Regions from separate parts of the Homo sapiens genome. Here region 2 is linked to region 1. The links are contacts of gene promoters, found by promoter capture Hi-C in human tissues and cell types (Jung and others, 2019). All regions are on one chromosome and are shown on one strand. The core of a region is centred on a gene start or on the middle of the fragment in contact, and the rest is flanking DNA. Distances in the headings are between cores, read along the strand shown.

What was found. The method cuts DNA at HindIII sites, captures the fragments that hold promoters and counts their contacts. A contact is called where the count stands out against the background at its distance.
Region 2: a fragment that was not itself captured here is called in contact with the fragment with the promoter of CRABP1 in region 1 in 2 of the 25 tissues and cell types used here (H1 embryonic stem cells and mesenchymal stem cells).

What each region holds. Positions count from the first base shown.
Region 1 is chr15:78,337,635-78,342,158 of GRCh38, reverse strand. It overlaps CRABP1 (cellular retinoic acid binding protein 1), which reads right to left and starts at 1,806. Exons shown (of 4, transcript NM_004378.3): 1 at 1,661-1,806; 2 at 938-1,116. The coding sequence starts at 1,730. RefSeq lists an enhancer at 1,628-2,256. The HindIII fragment of the contact is 13,960 bases long and covers 1-4,524 here.
Region 2 is chr15:78,672,664-78,677,187 of GRCh38, reverse strand. No RefSeq gene overlaps it. Among named protein-coding and RNA genes, the nearest start is that of CHRNB4, 34 kb to the right of the region's middle. RefSeq lists an enhancer at 3,019-3,909. The HindIII fragment of the contact is 7,783 bases long and covers 1-4,524 here.

The DNA of each region.
Region 1 (4,524 bases), core at 557-3,056:
ATCAGCCTGCTTCTGGGGGGCTTTGTTTCTTTGTCCTTCCAAGCCCGGTGCTCAGAGAGTCCCATTCCGAGATCAGACCAGGCACTGCTCAGGAAAGGTGAAAGAAACAATTTCCCACTCTCTGGAATGTTACGACTTTTTTCTTTAAAAAAAAAAAATTGGAGAAGGGGAGGGAGACATTCTGTCACTTTTTAAATAAGTGGTAGCACCGGTGATTATTTTTCCATCTGGTTAACCAAATGCAATTTTTGCCCATGCAAAAAACGAATGTACAACCCCTTGCTTCAATCCACCGGTTCATCCCTGGGCCGATGCATGGAGAAATAAAAAAAAACTCTTGCCCTTGAGGACTAAGAGAGGGCAACTAGTCCATTTTCCCAGCCAGAACCTGCCTTGCTTTTGGAAAGACTCCGCCGTTCCTTTAAGGAACCAGGCCGAAGGCGGGAAGGGAGAGGTGACGGGGCCATCGGGACTGCTAAAACTGTATCCAGAGCGTACCCAGGCGGCCCAGGGACCCGGGCGGGCGCGGGGGATACGGCGGGAAAGGAATGCAAGAGCTGCGGCTTCACCTGCGACAGAGAACCTGGCGGCTCCTGCAACCTCCTCCTCCTCCTGCGCCGCCTGCGCTTGGCGCTGCAAACCGCTGCAAAAGCCACTGCTGGGAACGCGGCGCAACCCAGAGCCCGCTCTTTAAGCGCGGCTGTTAGCACCCCGGGAGGCAGCGTAGGGATGGGGTTGAGATGGAATGAAGGTAATACTTTGTCTTGAGCCAGGGGCAACTAGGATGCACAAACCCCCTCTGCAAACAGCCAGTGTACACACCCTGCAAGGAAGGCGCGCCACAGGCTGCAAAGGGAGACACAGGTTCCTCCAGCAGCAGTGGGCCATGGGCACCGAGCGGGGACACGGGGACGCTGTAGTGGCTCTGGGGCCTCACCCTGCACTTGCGTCCGTCCACGGTCTCCTCCTCAAAGCCTTCTCCGACCTTGAAGTTGATCTCAGTGGTGCGCACCGTGGTGGATGTCTTGATGTAGAACTGATCCCCGTCCTGGCGGATCTCCACGTGCGGCTTGGACGCAGCCGCTACGGCCACTTTCCTCAGCATGGCGTTCACACCTGCGCAGGGTGCACCACAGGCTTGGGTCACGGGGCCTCGCCGCCAGTCTCGGGACCGGTCGGGCACTGGTCATACCCTAACTTTAGAAAGGGGCCTTAAAATTGATCCACTCGTTTCCCTGCCCTCGCCCTTGTTTTCGAGATGAGAGACTGAGGCACAGAGAGGGTAAGTGACTTTCCTCGAGTTGCACAGTGAATTCGTGGCAGAGCCTGGTCCCAAATTTGAGTCTCCAAATTTAAGTCCCTGATCCTCCTTGCTCTCCAGTAATCTCTCCTCGCTATGATCTAGCACGAGATAAAGTCCGCACCATCGAGGAGGGCGCCAAACATTCAGCAAACGTTCGCTGAACGCGTGGGTTCCGGGATCTCTACCAGCTTCTCCGAGACCCGGTGCGCCTGGGAGACAAGGCGATCTATTGCCCCGGGGACTCCCTCCTGCCTGGGCTCCCCAACTTCCACCCCCTCCAGGACCGGGGCACTTCCGGGACCAGGGCACCTCCGGGCCGCATCTCCCCGTCGGGGCGCGCCCTCTGCACCAGCTTACCCAGTGCCTTGAGCAGCTCGTCGAAATTCTCGCTGCTGCGCATCTTCCAGGTGCCGGCGAAGTTGGGCATGGTGGCGGTGGCGGCGGCGGCAGGTACGGACAGCGGCGGCGCAGCGGGCACACTCTGAGCTCGCAAGGCGGAGACTGGCGCTTTGCGCCCAGCGCTGCGCGCCTTGAGTCACTAGGAGAGCGCCCCCAACCCCGCCGGGCTTCTGGCCCCGCCCCGCCGGCCCTGCCCCCGCTCCCCCGCAGCCCCTACTCGGTATGCGCTCAACTCCCAGCCCAGTTGTGCCTCAGCCTCCAGAGGTGCGGGCACCCGCTCTCCAACTGGGGAGCCTCCACCTCCCTCAGGACACCCACATCCCGCTTTAAAATGGGTGGTGGGAGAGGGTTAGCTGAAACAAGATGGGCTTGGAGGGGATAACTGTTGAAGCTGGGCGGTGTGGACTTGGGTTATGATTCTACTTTTCTCTCTACTTTTGAATATGTTTGAAAATATCCATAACATAAACTTAAAGTGGATAGCGAGCGGGGCCATCAGGGGATGGGACCCACTCTTTTTTCACCTCCGGTCGTACCTACTGGGTGTGCCCAGATGGTGTCCCTTCCCTCCCAGTCCGGGATCCTATTCTGAAACCCTCTCCCCGCATCCCCACGCCCCCCACAGGACCCATGGGGAGTGAGTGGCAGGAAACCGCAACCCCCATCAACACCAGCTTGGGCACTGAGGCGCGAATCCACGAGCTGCGGGTCCTCCGCGTTCCGAGTGCAGGAGGGGGCCAGACCTTTGTCAGGGCTCAGGACAAACTGTGGGTCGAGAGGCATGGACTGAATCAGCTCCAGAATCTGGGCTAGGTGCGGCCTGTTTTGCAAAAGCGTGAGGCTTTGCACTCTTCGGGCAGGCTGTGAGGGCCAAGGGGAGGAAGTCTTCTCCCTTTGCTCCCAAATAACCTAAACATCACGACCTAAAGTCCCCTCGGTGTTTCCACTAAGGGAGTACAAACACTTCACTATTACCCTTGTAGCTCTTCTCTGTACATTTTCCTTCCAGCTTTTTCCCACTATTTTACCATCTGCACACCTCAGCCAAACTGTACAATTCAGGATTCTAGAACGTGCCATGCATTTTATTATCTCTAAGTTTTTGCCCATGCCATGGCTTCTTCCTTGAATGCCCCTTTCCTCATCGGGTTAATCAAATCTTGCCCATTCACGAAAGCCCATCTTTATGCTCTCTCTTTTGTGAAATTCAGTTTCCTAATAAACTGTGATTATTTTTCTCTGAATTGACAGGATTCTTGTCCGGTCCTGCTCTTGTTCAAGTCTTCGCTCTGCTATAAACTGAACTCCTGGAGGGCAGTGATCGTTTATCCACTTGTCCTCCCTTCCTAAGGCTTAGCCAGGTGGGGCTCGATAACTGTGCATTGATTTGAGGAGGATGTGAGTGGTGGCCTGGGGTGAAGATTCCCCCAGGACCTTGGGGAATCTGTGCTGAGTGCCTACTGAACAGGGCCCTGGAAACTTCTGGAGGTGGCTGGGGCTGGGTTGCTGCCAGGAGGCTCCGAGGATCTGTCTAAGAAAGCAGCTGAGGACAGGAGAGGGGAGTGGGGCCATCACCAGCTGGAAAGGGGCATGGGCAGGGCCGGCATTCTGGACGTGCCGTCTGTGCAGTCACACAGGGCCATGCACTTAGAAGGGCCTGATAGTTAGATTGGAAAATGGAAAAGCAGGAATGCTCTGCTATTGCCAGCTTGAACGTCAGAATACTTTTTGTTTGTTTGTTTGTTTTGAGACAGAGTCTCGCTCTGTTGCCCGAGCTGGAGTGCAGTGGCGCAATCTTGGCTCACTGCAACCTCTGCCTCCTGGGTTTAAATGATTCTCCTGGCTCAGCCTCCCAAGTAGCTGGGACTACAGGTGTGTGCTACTATGCCCAGCTAATTTTTTGTATTTTTAGTAGAGACAGGGTTTCACTGTGTTAGCCAGGATAGTCTCGATCTCCTGACCTCGTGATCCGCCCTCCTCGGCCTCCCAAAGTGCTGGGATTACAGGCATGAGCCACCGTGCCTGGCCCCATAATACTTTTTGAACAAGGAGTCCTGAATTTTTATTTTGCACTGGGATCTGCAAATTAAGTAGCAGGTCCTGGATGTGGGAGGCAAGGGATGGAGCTGCCATAGAATCAAACCCACTTCACAGAGGGTTGAGTGCCTCTCCAGTGAAGGGGCAAAACAGGAGTGCCATCCAGCTAATGCAGGCCTCTGCCCCCATCCAACACTCTTCCCTAAGAAGGCTTCAGCCATCTAAAGGGCAGGGCTGGGGAGGGACTGGGGCAGGAGGCTGGAGGAGGGCAGCAATGTTGGAGCAGCATCCTAGTTTACAGCCCAGAGAGACCTTGTGAGGATAGTCAGAGGGCCGTGGATGAGGCACAAAGGTGACAGAGAGCTCTTGCAGCAAAGGCATTGGATGGACAAAGAGGGAAGAGGGAAAGAAGAAGGTGAGGGAGGGAGTCAGAGAGAGAATGGGGCAAGAGGGGCCAGATGAAGGTGTCCACTCCAAAAGTTGGCCATACTGGGACAGGACAGTGGTGTCGTTCTGCAGGCACAAAACAAGGGCGGGAGCAGGGTCCAGGAGTGAGGAGGGCACAGCCAGTTCAGCCATAGAGTGGAAGATGATCCCAGAGTCCTTGTGAGCCCACTCTCCTTGTTTTTAAGACAGGGTCTGGCTCTGTCGCCAGTGCTGGAGTGCCCTGGTGCCATCTTGGGTCACTGTAACCTTGCCTCCCGGGCTCAAGCAATCCTCCTGCCTCAGCCTCCCAAGTAGCTGGGATTACAGGCATGCACCACCGTGCCTGGCTAATTTTTGTA
Region 2 (4,524 bases), core at 1,245-3,744, 330 kb before region 1:
GACAGGATTTTATTCTTTTTATGGCTGAATAGTACTCCATTGCATATAAGAAATGATACATGCATGTGGGATGGTTGTCCTACTTCCCTGAGTTGATCATTATGGAGCATATCTGTATTGACACATCAAATTGTACCCATAAATATACACAATTACAATGTGCCCATTTCTAAAAAGCCGGCTCACTGTGGAGACCAAAAAACCCTTCCACAGCTCCAAGGGAGATCACAGACTGTGAAGCAGGCTGGGGGCTCCAGGGCCTGGGCCTCTTGCGCTCACCACTGTACTTCCCAGCCACAACCCTCCCTGTCTTTAATGTCAGGCATTGCCCCTCCCCTCCCTGAAAGCCCTGCTTCAAGCCTGCCTCCTCCTTCCTCACCCAAACCACTCGCTGTATTTTCATGCCTTATTAGAAAATTACTTAGGCCGTGAAGATCTGCATACATTTACCTGCTTTCTGTAAAGGTTTTCAGATCAGGCAGTTTCCCACAGGGTTGGAATCTCAATGCATTGAGATGGTAAATTATTTCTTCCTTAATCCTCTCACTGAACTCCCGCAGGGCCTAGCACCGTGTTCTGCACACAGTGAGTCCGTCGTCCGGCAGACACTGGTTCTTCACCTGGTGCTGAGCTTGGAGCCCCACAGTGCCGGGCTGGCAGCGCCCATTGGGGTGGGAGGGAGTTGGTGCTCGCCCTCCTTGGAGTGCTTTTGCAAGTGTGTGTTAGATCTGTGGTCTAAGGCACATCAGGAGCCCAGAATGGTTTCCCAAGGGGAAGAAATAAAAGTCCCCACAAGAGAACGGAGCTTGCCCATCCACTGAGGAACAGTGCTCCAGGGTCCTTTTCTGACCCTGCTCAGCCGCAAACTTCTCCTCGCCCACCCCTCCTGTTTCTCTTCCTCCACCTCCTCCATAAGGACCTGGGCACTGTGCTGGGCCCCGCCTCTTGTGTTTGACTTTCCCCCTTGCATGGAGTGCTCAAGGAAGCCATCAAGTTGGACATCTTCCCCATAGGGCGCAATCCAAATGGGCACCTAGCGCTGTCAGCCACGGACTGTTGCATGAACGTGCTCACCCCAACCCTTCAACCCACACATAGGGAAGCCTTATCCCAAGCATGTGCTTTGTAAACACACACTTCTCATGGGCAGACAGAGAGTCTGGGCTCCCATATCAGCTTAGCTGCTGATCACGGTATAACCTTAGTCCCTCCCCTCTCCGGGCCTCGGTATTCCCAGCTGTATGATGAGACCACTGGACTCAATGAACTTGGCTTTCCTTTTAGTGTCAGTGTTCACCAAGTTGTCCTTGGTGTCCCTCAAGCAGCTGCTCCTGCCTCCCCCAGCCCCACCCATACACACACCTCATAGTTAGAGTGGGAATGAAGAGGTGTGGGTGGGTAGCCCCTCAGAAACTGCTGGCCCTGCTGGTGTCACCACTGAGAGCCCCTGGACACAAAGCCCTCCATGGACCCCCTTAGGCTTGCCTGGCAACACACAGGGGCCTGTTGCCCAGACACATGCTTCCTCATGGTGCCCCTCGGCTGACCACAGGGAAGCTTTGGAACTATCCCATAGAAAAGACTTCATTAGATCTCATTCTCCTCAAGTCCATTTGGGGAGAGCCGGCCGTAGAATGAGAGGGCTCATTTTCTGGTTGCATTAGCCATTAGCCATTAGCTTGGGAGGTCTGGGCCCTGAAGTCCTGGGCAGCGCAGGGAGGGGTGGGTGAGCATCTACTTCACACCAGAGGTGCTCCTGGCCTTGCCAGGCCTGACCTCAGAGGAGTTGATCACATGGGGGTCTTTTCTCCCCAAGACTCACAGAGACATGCAAAACGCCAAGTAGGGGGGTGGGTGAGGCCTACAGAGGGGAAGGAACTTGTTGAGGCCTCCACAGTGAAGGGGGCAGCTCCAGTGCCTGGCCCCCAGAAGGTCCTCAGGCCTGAGCCCCCCTGTAGCACCAACACAGGGCAGTGCTGAGCCGCTACCCCCAATCCCACCTCCCTAAGGTATGACTAATGGGCCAACTGTCCTGGTCCAGGGATGTTTCTAGCCAGCAACATTTAGCTCTGAAGGTAGCTTTCCTGCAGCTGTTGTAACAAATTAAAGCAAAATGGTTGGCTTAAAATCCCAGAACTTTGCTCACAGTTCTAGAGGCCAGAGGTCTGACATCAAGGTGCTGGCAGGCCCACGTTCCCTCGGAATGTGCTATGGCAGAGTCCCTCCTTGCCTCTTCCAGCTCCTGGGGGACCCAGACATTCTTTAACTCATGGCTGCATCACTCCAGCCTCTGCCTCTGTCTTCCCATGGTCTTTTTTGTGCCTTTCCTTTTCTGTCTCCTATAAGGACACACTGGATTTAGGCCCCGCTCAGACGATCTCATCTTGAAATCCTTGATTATACCTACAAAGACCCTTTTCCCCAATAACACCACATTCACAGGGTATGCGGGTTAGGAAATGGACATGTCTTTTCGGGAGGCCACTGTTCAACTCATAACATACACCATTGGATTGCCCCACTCCCCCAAATTGCCAGCCAGACTCTGTTGTTTGTTCATGCTTTCTTTGTGGGAACAATAACAGTAACCGCAATACTAATAGATAACATTTTAGTGCTTACTAAGTGCCAGGCACCATGATAAGCCTTTAACATATTAAACTCATTTAATTGTCACTGCAACCCTGTGAAGTGGTTACTATTCTCTCCAAACTACAGTCGAGGAGATGAGGGTCAGAGAGGAACATGTTGTTGGTAACAGGTGAATACAGAACTCAACTCCTGGGATCCCAGAGTTCAGAGTGGACAGACCAAGGTAAGAGACAGAGCTCTTGTCCCTGGAGTTGAAGGGGGTGAGGAGCTGAGGAAGATGATGGAGGAACTCTGGCCAGCACCACTCTGCCCCTTCCAGCTGTGTTACCCTGGGCCGGGGCCTGGCTGTCTCTGAGTCTCTGGCAGGTGAGGTCTGGGGTGGACTCTTTCTGGCGCAGGCCTGGGTTGATGACACTGGTTCTTAACCCTGGATGCATATCAGGATACCCTGGGAGCTTTTCAAAATCCCAATGTCCAGGCCACTCCCCAGGCCAACTACAACAGAGTCTCTCAGGGGTGGGATCCTGGCACATGGGTGGCTTTGACAGCTCCCAGATGATGCCAATGTGTGGTCCAAGCCAAGAACCGCTGCTCAAGTCTGTCCATTCTCTCCCTGGCTCACCATGCCCCAGTAGGGAAGCTGAGGATCTGAAACTCTGTGTCCCTGACTCCCAGTAGTTACTGGATAGCCAAGAGATGGGCCTGGCTTGGTGCAGATGAGGGACACCTGGGGCTGCAGCATGGGTTGGGGTGGGACAGAAAATGGGAAACAAGTCCCTGGCAGGCATGGGAGTGGCCGGCCAGTCTGCCAGAGACCCCTGATGTGAGTTCAGTCTCTGGCAGGCCCAGTCCAAGAGAGAAAAGGCCTGAAGGGATGACACACGGTGAGTTTTGGGTGTCAGAAAGTGGGACACAGCAGGACACAGGAACTCCCACGGTGTGACTTCTGGGAAGAAGGGCTGGGCAGGAAACGATGGAGGATTCATGCCAATCAGGACACAGGGATGCTGTGCTGGCCTGGCCCTGACCTTTCCATTGCAGCTCTGACAGCTGGGGTGGTCTAAGGCCCAGAAAGGGGCTGGTGTGAGGACTCTGTGTGAGGTTTGGGAAGATTTTTGGTGCAGACTCGGCTGAGGCCAACTGACCAGACAGCTCGGGCTGCTAGGGCTGCTCCAAATTTGGAATTCCGTGCCCTGGTTGGAGAAAGCAACCGGGAGAAGCACAGAGAAAAACTCTCCTTCTCCTCTTTTCCAAGAATGAGAATGGGGCCTTCTCTGACCATTTGGGAACTGGGTTTTTAAGACCAGGTTAGGAACTATTAAGGAAAAGAAAAAAAAGCCCTGCCGCCCCCACTTAGAACATTCATTTTGTAGTGAAACTTTGGCTTCAGTCTCTCTCTTCCTGTCTTTTTTTCTCTGCTCTCTAAGCCAACTGTATCTTTGTCTTGCTCTGTCTAGCTGTCTCTCCCTCTCCCTGTTGTTTGTATCTTTTTCTGCCTCTCTTGTGTACCTGACTCACTCTCTGCCTCTCTCTGTCTCTATCTCATTCTATCTTTATCTACTATGATCTCTGTCAGATCCCGGGGTCCAGGTCCAGCCCATGCTGAAGTCCAAGGGGAGTGCGTGGATGGGCAGAAAGAACACTCGGGGGGCCATAGGCAGGTGACTATGGTTTATTCAGCAGCAGCTCTCTTACACAGCTTATTTAAATTAGCTTTCTCATTAACAACTTACTCACACACTGTTCACCCTGTCTCGGCTGCTTGAGCTGGCTGCCCCCACGCACAGTTGTGCAGCCAGCTCTCCTTTGCCTTCAGGGTCAGCAGCTTAACTCTTTCTCTCTCTGGGCACAAGCAAGCCAAGTTGGGTCCTGACTCCCTCCTGTCCATCTGCAAGATGGAGAGCTTTGACTCTCTCTCTCTTTCTCTGGGCA